Linked DNA regions of Homo sapiens: regions 2 and 3 are each linked to region 1. Evidence: promoter capture Hi-C in 16 types of primary human blood cells and fetal thymus (Javierre and others, 2016). All regions are on one chromosome and are shown on one strand. The core of a region is centred on a gene start or on the middle of the fragment in contact, and the rest is flanking DNA. Distances in the headings are between cores, read along the strand shown.

Region 1 (2,794 bases), core at 131-2,630:
TTTGTGAACAAAACATTTTAAAACACTTGAAGGAAATAAAAACAAATTTACATCTAAGTGTCACTCACATGTAATTCCGAATAGCCTCGGTGAAGATGTCTTTTTTGTAACCCTACAGCAAGAAAGAAACAAGCTGGAAATGTTCCAGCAGATGTTACCTAAAACGATAATCCTGTTCTATACACATCTCTGTCTCCTGTTTCTGACAAACGCTCTCAGACAAATTAATTTGTGTAATCTTTTACATTAACTATATAACCATTACGTTCAAACAAACCTAATTCAGATGCACAGAAAGAAATCATTCGGTGTCAACAATACTTTCTAAAATCAGCTTAAATTCCAGCCAATTAAAATAGATTGTGCTAACAGAATACTGATCTGCAACTACTTAAATATCACAGCACCCGTCTAATCTCACTGTAGAGATACTAAGGTCAGGCTTTTCTTATTCAGGCATCTGTTCTTTAACACTCAAATGAAGCGAAAAACAAAACCCTCAAGGAAGATCTGCCTTTACACTGAAATATGTTCAGGTTATTTTTTTCCCCAACGTGGGCACAAAACGTGTCAATGCAAGGAGGACCTGTTCGTTCTGGGAGACGGTTCCAAATCCCAGAATCCGATTTCTATGAGGGTCCAAAAGGTATGAAGGTCTGAGAAGGGGCCATTCTTCTTCCCCGCACTATGCCAGTCGTGAACTTCACAGCATCGCCTGAAACTTGTCCGGGGGAGGTTGCGGAGCCGCGGGGCCGGCGCCCGGTCGCTAGCCCACCCTCGCGGGCAGCCAAGGTCAGAAGGGCCCGGGCCGCGACTGACGGCCCCTGGCGAGTCTCGGGCTCCCTCCGAACTCGGGCAGGGGGCTGGGGCGCGCAGGCCCCTCCTCGGCGCCGGCGGGAAGGGGCTTACCTCGCCGCAAGCCCCGGGGAGCTCGTGCCGCGGGAGCGGCGGGGCGGGGACGCCGCAGACCCGCCGCTGAGGGGAACCCCGCGGGGCGGGCTCGACCCGCCGCCCCTCTTTCACACCCTTTCGCCTCCCCACACCCCAAAAGACAGCCCCAGCCCCTCGGGGGAAGCCCTTCCAGAGGCGCAGGGGAGCGCTGAGGAGGGGCTACTCCGGGCTGGGACGTCCTCACCGCGTCGCCCCGTTCCGGGGGAACCGGCGCCCCCGCCCCTTCTCTTGTCCGCCCGGGGGGACTGGGTGGGTCTCCACTCTCAGGAGAAGCTGGGTGGACGCGGGGCCGATGTAAGGGTAAGAAGGCTTGGCGGGCGGGTGGCGGCGCGACTACTCACCCCGCCGAGTCCCCCACTTCTAGCAGGGGACCCCACAGCTCCTGAGGACGCCGTCGCCGCTTTACCTTCCCCAGCGGCAGAGACAACTAATCGAAACCTCCGGCCCCGCCCTCTAGCAGAAGCGAACGCGCAGCCTATTTTGCTAACTGCCCCGCCCCAGCCGGCCCGTTCGGACCAATGGGAAAGCACCTCAGGTTTTGCCCGATCCCGCCTTTACCCCGCCCCCTTCTGGTAGGAGCCAATGAGGAGGAAGCGCTTGTCCTGGGGTTCGGGCTCGCGCCGCTCGTGCTCGAGTCTCCGAAGCCGAAGAACGCTGGTTCCTTATACAAGCTCGCCTGCGCGCTCACGCGCGCGCCGCGCCTCCTGGCACGCCAGGTTTGGTTGCCCCGCCAAGCCCTAGCAACCTGGGCTGGAGAGGCTGAGAGGGGCGGGGCCCGAGCCTGGAGTCGACGCCGGGGGGTAGAGCGGGGAAGCAGGGAGAGGGTCGACGGTGGTGGGGTGGGGAGATCGTGACTGAGAAAGGGGTGGCTGCGGGGGTAGGAGGTGGCGAGGAGGCCCCGGAATCCGCCTGTCACTGCGGAAAAAAGAGGGAATCCTGCCTGCAGCGCAGCTACCCTGCCCTCCCTCCGGAGGGACCCGTGCCGGGGGCTGGGGTGGGGGAAGTCGGAGAAGAGGGGGAGAACATACTCGGGGCGGGAGCTGAGAAATACAGGATGGAGGATGGTTTATCTCTGTTGTTGGTAAAAATGATATCGAAGTCCATTGCTGCTGCTGCCCAACTGTTGCCGCTGCGTGTGCACACACACACGCACATATGCACACACACAACACACACTCACACGTACACTCATCCAGCAGCTTGCGGTCCCTTGGGTGAGTTAGGCGCAAAGACCTAGCAGCCTGAGGATTCCTTACACAGCAGCTGGGCGCGTGCAAAGAGCTGTTGCAGCAGTAGCAGCAGCAGCAGCAGCAACGACCCACACCTCCGCTTCGGTCCGATGCTCTGCCACACAAGATCCCCCAGCTGGCTTGAAAGCAATGAAGTCATCGCCCAACCAGTACAAATGTAAAGATCTTAATACCCACCATGGATCGGGTTTCCAAGGAGGATGAAGAGGTGATGAAATTGAAGGAGATAACATTTCCAATGCTACTTTTAGAAAATAAAGAAAAAAAATTTTTTTAAAAAGACATTGGGGACAAATCTATGGAAAGCTGCATAATTATTTTCGCTTTAACAAGCAAAGGAGAAAAATAGGGTCTCTTCTGGTTAGGAAAAGCACGGAAAATAGGCAGTGTATGAGGTCATAGCTGCCACCAAATTAGAAAGATGCAGTACTGTAATAGGAAATAGATATTTGGGATAAAATCCACTTAATCTATTCCTGTAGTGAATCTGGTAACAATATGTAGCAGCATGCTCAGTTTGGCCACTTGATACCAAGCCAATAGGATTTTCTTTTTCATAACGGTGAATATTTGATGAGGAAATGAAAGTGGAA
Region 2 (2,794 bases), core at 210-2,709, 500 kb before region 1:
AGCCTCTGCAGCTTCCAGGGGGCTCGGCCGCAGCTGGACATGGCACCAACCTCTCTCCCTGTGGCCGTGCTCCCCTTTTCCAGTCCCATCCCTGTACTCCTTCCCTTTGCCAAAGCACTGTCCCTTCTCAGAAAGGCCAGCGGTACTAGTACAGCAGGTGCAGCCTAGCCGATCCCGGGTTGTCCCCGGTGATGGCCTCCCTCCTCCATGGGCCCCCAGGTCCCAGGCACAATCAGCTCCCCGCCTGCTGGAGAGCCAGGTGCCCAGCCTCTCCCACCAGAGATGGGGCCCAGGCCAGCCCTGGGGTGCTTTTTCCCCACCGGTGGGGCCCTGTGCGGGGGTTCTGAATGGGCCAGGCTGCTCCACTACCGCCAGCATCCCCACTCACAGACCTACTTTGCTTTCTCTAGAGGGAAGGATGTCCCCTCAGAACATCCCCTGCCAGCAGGCGCCCCCATCTTACTCTTCTTTCCCCCGTCCTTTGGGAGCAGGGGCACAGGCTTCTGGCATCCCCCAAGTGGAGCTGTTTCCACTCCTGACCCTGCATAAAAAGGGACACCAGGCAGGTTTAGAATAGATGCAGACCCAGAGGGAGGCAAGACATTACTTGAGACGGGGCAGTTTGGCTTGGGACTTATTGAGGACAATTTCTAGAAGTCTCCTATCAGACTATCTTGCACAATGAAGGCACTTGATAAATAGGCGTTGAGGTTGTTGAGGGGTGGCAAGGACAGAATGGGGAGGAGCAGCAGGACGAACACTGTCATTTCCAAAGCCAGTCATTGCATGGAAGAGCATGCTGATGTGTATGTCACCAGGCAGAAGAGGGCAGTAAGGAACACGTGTCCATGTGAAGAGACAAGAGTCATGAGCTAACGCTCATTCTGTGTTCTTGTTCACAGTTACTGTTTTGGCAGAAAACAATCACATTAAGGACTTATTGAGGAAACACGGGGTGAACGTCCAGAGTATCGCGGACATTCATCCAATTCAAGTCCAGCCGGGCCGGATTCTTAGTCACATATATGCCAAGCTTGGTAGGTTTGGGGAAATTACCTGGGCCTTTTTGGCATGGGGGCATCTCGGTTCTAGATTTGGGGTCTGAGGGAGACTGTGATATACGTAAGTTCTAAAGACTTGGACAAAAACTAAAGCAGGCGGTTCCACCGCTTCGATGTGAAGAGGAACGGGCAAACCAGCACGTTCTCACACCCGTTCAGTGGGCACCGTCACAGGTGGCCAAGCATTCGCCGGATCTGTTGTAAAATAAGGAGCCACCTTGAAAAATTTACAATTGGAAAAGTCATTTGTGTCTTGATAATGCTTCTCATGTTTACCTTTAGTATCAGAAAATGCTCATTTACACATTAAAATGGGAGGAGGTTCTCTATGCTTTTTCTACAATCTGACTTTGTTTACTATTATGGTTCAATACTAAGTAAATCGAAAGTAAATGTTCTATAGTCCTTTTAGTAGTTTTATTCCATGCAGTTCCAACTGGGTACTGTTCATATACATTCATGAAAAGAAGGGGGCGGGATTTGTTTTAATATTCAGCTTCGTGCCATTTTAAAGGATGATGGCAGTAGAAGAACCAAGCCCCAAAATGGGTTGTCTAATCTAGAAATAAGCTCAGTCTTAGCCTGAGTTGCCTGGATTACTTGTTAACCGTATTTCCTCTAACTCCAATTTATCTTTTACTTCTCAAACAGGACGGAATAAGAATATGAATTTGAGTGGGCGACCGTATCGACATATTGGTGTCCTTGGAACCTCTAAACTATATGTGATTAGGAACCAAATCTTTACTTTTACACCCCAGGTGAGGAGAGCAGGCCAACGAGCATCTTTTTTTTAAGTTCTCTTTGCTGTCTGGTAAGCTTTTCTCCTGTGAATATGACAGAATTCTGCATGCATAGGTTCAAATAGAGACATATGAAATGATACCAAGAGCCTAGTACAAGTCTGCCCGTAGTAGGTGCTCGGTAAATGCTTTTTGAGACAGGCGTGCCATCACTTCCAGTCATGAATATTAGTGAAATTCAGACTGCTTTAGAAGTTTGCTGTTGACATGTCACTTGACTCACAGCCCTTGTGCCCCTAATCACAATCATCTCTGACCCTTGTGCAAGCTGTCATCAGACCCTCTGTGTAACACACAGCCAGGCTGATTTTCTGGCCACACCCTCGCTTACTGGGATACTGAATGTACTCATGGAACTTACTGGAGAGCTTTGGTTTCCAAAGAAAACTAGTCCTGTGGAAGTACATAGAAAATATTTTTCACCCATTTGGGCAGCTAGAAAGACCAACAGTGGGATCGCTTTGGCAGTGCAGGGCACAATCCCTGCTTACCTGGGCACAGGGTTGGTCATGGGGTCTTGGGTCAAGCTGCTGTTTCATCCTAGCCCCTGCTGCTCACAGAAAGCTTGTGAGCTATTTCCCTTAGTAGCAAATTTCAGTCCAGAGCTGAGCATGCACTAGTCCAGAGGCCAAGAGAACAGTTTGATTTGTTCTCAACATCAGGCAGCAGTGTCTTTAGTTGACATTAACCAAAGCCATCAATCAGGTAAACAGAGTGTCCACCTCCCACCTGCTCACAGTGCCCCCACTTGGAAAGCATCTTCGAACCCATAGCCCTGGAAGGATCAGGAATTAAGGAGTTATTGATTTGCTTTCAGAGACAGCAGTGTTGGGCAAGATGCTTAAATCCCCATCTGAGGAGCTGGAAATAAATCTAGCAGTGCACCTTTCCCTTCCACCCTACAGCGACAGCTCCCGGGCAGGCAGCAGA
Region 3 (2,794 bases), core at 138-2,637, 450 kb before region 1:
AAAAGCCCTTGAACCCCGGAGATGGAGGTTGTAGTGAGCCAAAATTGCACCACTGCACTCCAGCCTAGGTGACCGAGCGAGACTCTGCCTTAAAAAAAAAAAAAAAAATGGAGGAGGAAGTCCTGCCTCCACACGAATGCACCTGGAGGGCATTATGCTAAGTGAAATAAGCCAGACACAGACAAATATCACGTGATCCTTCTTCTATGTGGAATCTAAAGTCCAGCTCACAGTAATAGGGAATAGAAGGTGGTTACCAGGGGAACAAGTCCACACAGTGCTGCGTGCATGGAGCGCAGTTGCTGAGGGGTCTGTACTGTACAAGCCAAAGGAATGAGAAAAGCTTGGTGTTCATTGCTGGGAATGAATGAGTGTCTCCAAATCCAAGGAGACACTGGGATCCTGAATAGGCTCTGGGTCGGGATGTCAAAGGCCACCAAGCTCCAGAGCCTTGCCAAGGTGGGTCACTCTTCATGACCGGGAGTGCCCATGAGCACACGTGGAGGCACTGCCTCATCTGCCACAACACCTAGCGGCTCTCTCCGATGTCTCATTGATGACCTGTGAGCTGTTTCCTCCCACATGGACCCTGGGAAAGCAAAGAATCACAAGCAGCAACGCCCTGGAAGGACCAAGGAAGACACAGCCATTGCGGTACTTCCAAGTGGGACCCTGCCTGTTCTCCCTCCTCAGGGACCTCCCATCCCTCCTAGTGGTGCTGGGCTCTACAACCTCTGCCACTAGCTCCACTCAGAGGACCCTCTCTCCATCAGAAAGTGGCGGCAGCTGTGTCCAGGTCACCAACCCCCAAACTCTGGCTCCTCGCAGTGTCTGTTCAGAATCCCAAATCTCTCAGCAGTCATTTAAGCTCTGCAGTTTTTCCGAACACTTTCAGAAGTTAGAGAACAACTTCTTCCCTTTGGCCATTAAAATGTAAGCAATTGACCTGGCACCGTGGCTCATGCCTGCAATCCCAGCAATCTGGGAAGCTGAGGCAGGAAGATCACGTGAGCCCAGGAGTTTGAGACCAGCTTGAGCAACATAGTGAGACCTCATCTCTACCAAAAATTTAAGAATTAGTTGGGTGTGGTGGCACGCACCCTTAGTCCCAGCTGCTCAGGAGGCTGAGGCAAGAGGATGGTGTGAACCCAGGAGTTTGAGACCAGTCTGGGCAACATGGCAAGACTCTGTCTTTAAAAAAAAAAAAAAACAAAAGTAACTGTACTGTGAGTGGCAAAACAGTTAAACTTCAAATATCAAAATTCAACTTCCTTCAAGTGATCTTCTCTTTAGGTGTCTGACAATGTTCTTTGGAAATTCAGGTTGAAATACAGTGACTTCTAGGGCAAAGAAAACAAGCAGAACATCCATTCCCCATATCCTAGGCACACTCATCCCTCACATGCCATTTGTTCCTCACGCCACCTCTCTGAGAGAAGGCATATCACCCCCTTCTGTGGACAGGGAAACTGAGGCTTAGAGATATTCAGAAGCTGGTCTGGATTCTAGCGCCTGTATAGAAGTGGCAGAGATGGGGCCGGGTGCAGTAGCTCACACCTGTAAACCCAGCACTTTGGGAGGCCGAGGCAGGCAGATCACTTGAGGTCAGGAGTTCGAGACCAGCCTGGCCAACATAGTAAAACCCCATCTCTACTAAAAACACAAAAATTAAGTGGGCATGATGGCACGTGCCTGTAGTCCCAGCTACTCAGGAGGCTGAGGCAGGAGAATCTCTTGAACTCGGGGAGGTGGAGATTGCAATGAGCAGAGAGTGCATCACTGCACTCCAGCCTGGCCAACAGAGAAGACTGTCGGGAAAGGGAAAGGGAAGGAAAAGGGAAGAGAAGGAAAAGGGAAGGGAAGGGAGAGAAGGAGAAAGAAGTGGCAGAGCTGCAATTCAAAGCCAAGCCTTGCCCTTTAAAACTATACACCTTCTTCCAGGGTTGGAGGCCAAAGGATTCCTCCTTTCCACCACTCCTCCTGGAGGAACATGTGTCGGTACCCAAAAGCATGCCTGCAAGGTGGAGAGACAGGGAGAGGTTCGCGTGGCACCCAGACGAGCCCCCTAATTCATGTCATTTTTCTGCATTGAGTCCTGATGATTTATTTCCCCAAGCACAGCCCAACTGAGGCTGAACCTCCTGGGCCCACGTGACCTCCTCAGCCTGGCTCCGGGAGGAGGTAGCTGAGCCGCATCTTCCCATCTGCTAGGTGTCAGGTTTTGCAGGACACCAGGCCTGAAGCTGTCCCTGGCCGTCCTCTCCCAGTCGCCCCACCCCACACCATTTCCCAGCTTCCCAGGAGGCGACAGATCCCTTGTCTGTTCCCCAGCAACGCACCCCGACCCCAAGTCTCTCCTGCCCCCAAGCAGATCCCATTCTCAGAGCACAAGGCATCCTTGGCCTTCAGCGCTGAATGCTCACAAGCTTATGTGATCAGTGTGCACACCAGCACCAGCAGCGTGCCAGGGCCAGGCATGTTGTACAAGTGAAATGCCAAGAGTGTGCTCCAGGGAGCAGCCTGGAAGGAAGCAAGAGTGACAGGGGAAGGAGCTGAGCAGGGTGTGGCATCAGGTGGAACCCAGCCAGCCCGACGCCACAGGGGGCTCTGGAGTGAGCACTGCAAGATAAAAGCAGCCTCTGCCATCAGTTAGCCAGTGACTGCTGGCTGCCCGCGGGTGGCAATGGGGGCAGTTGGGGGGGACGCGGATGGGACACAAGCTCTTAGGCAAGCACCTCCCATCAGTCCAGGGCAATGCACCAGGAAAGGGGGTCGCTGTGCGTTGCTGGCACCC

Evidence for each region. Contacts are between HindIII fragments. The CHiCAGO score rates a contact against its expected background, and 5 or more counts as called.
Region 2: a fragment that was not itself captured here is called in contact with the fragment with the promoter of CDKL5 in region 1 in 1 of 17 cell types (non-activated CD4 T cells); the score reaches 5.3 in non-activated CD4 T cells.
Region 3: a fragment that was not itself captured here is called in contact with the fragment with the promoter of CDKL5 in region 1 in 1 of 17 cell types (total B cells); the score reaches 5.3 in total B cells.

Annotation. Positions count from the first base shown.
Region 1 is chrX:18,424,194-18,426,987 of GRCh38, reverse strand. CDKL5 (cyclin dependent kinase like 5) reads right to left here and starts at 1,380. Exons shown (of 18, transcript NM_001323289.2): 1 at 1,293-1,380. RefSeq lists a silencer at 1,060-1,129 and an enhancer at 1,465-1,759. The HindIII fragment of the contact is 7,790 bases long and covers 1-2,794 here.
Region 2 is chrX:18,924,696-18,927,489 of GRCh38, reverse strand. PHKA2 (phosphorylase kinase regulatory subunit alpha 2) reads left to right here. Exons shown (of 33, transcript NM_000292.3): 14 at 903-1,037; 15 at 1,713-1,822. Among named protein-coding and RNA genes, the nearest start is that of PHKA2-AS1, 36 kb to the right of the region's middle. The HindIII fragment of the contact is 847 bases long and covers 1,036-1,882 here.
Region 3 is chrX:18,875,098-18,877,891 of GRCh38, reverse strand. No RefSeq gene overlaps it. Among named protein-coding and RNA genes, the nearest start is that of PHKA2-AS1, 14 kb to the left of the region's middle. The HindIII fragment of the contact is 2,083 bases long and covers 346-2,428 here.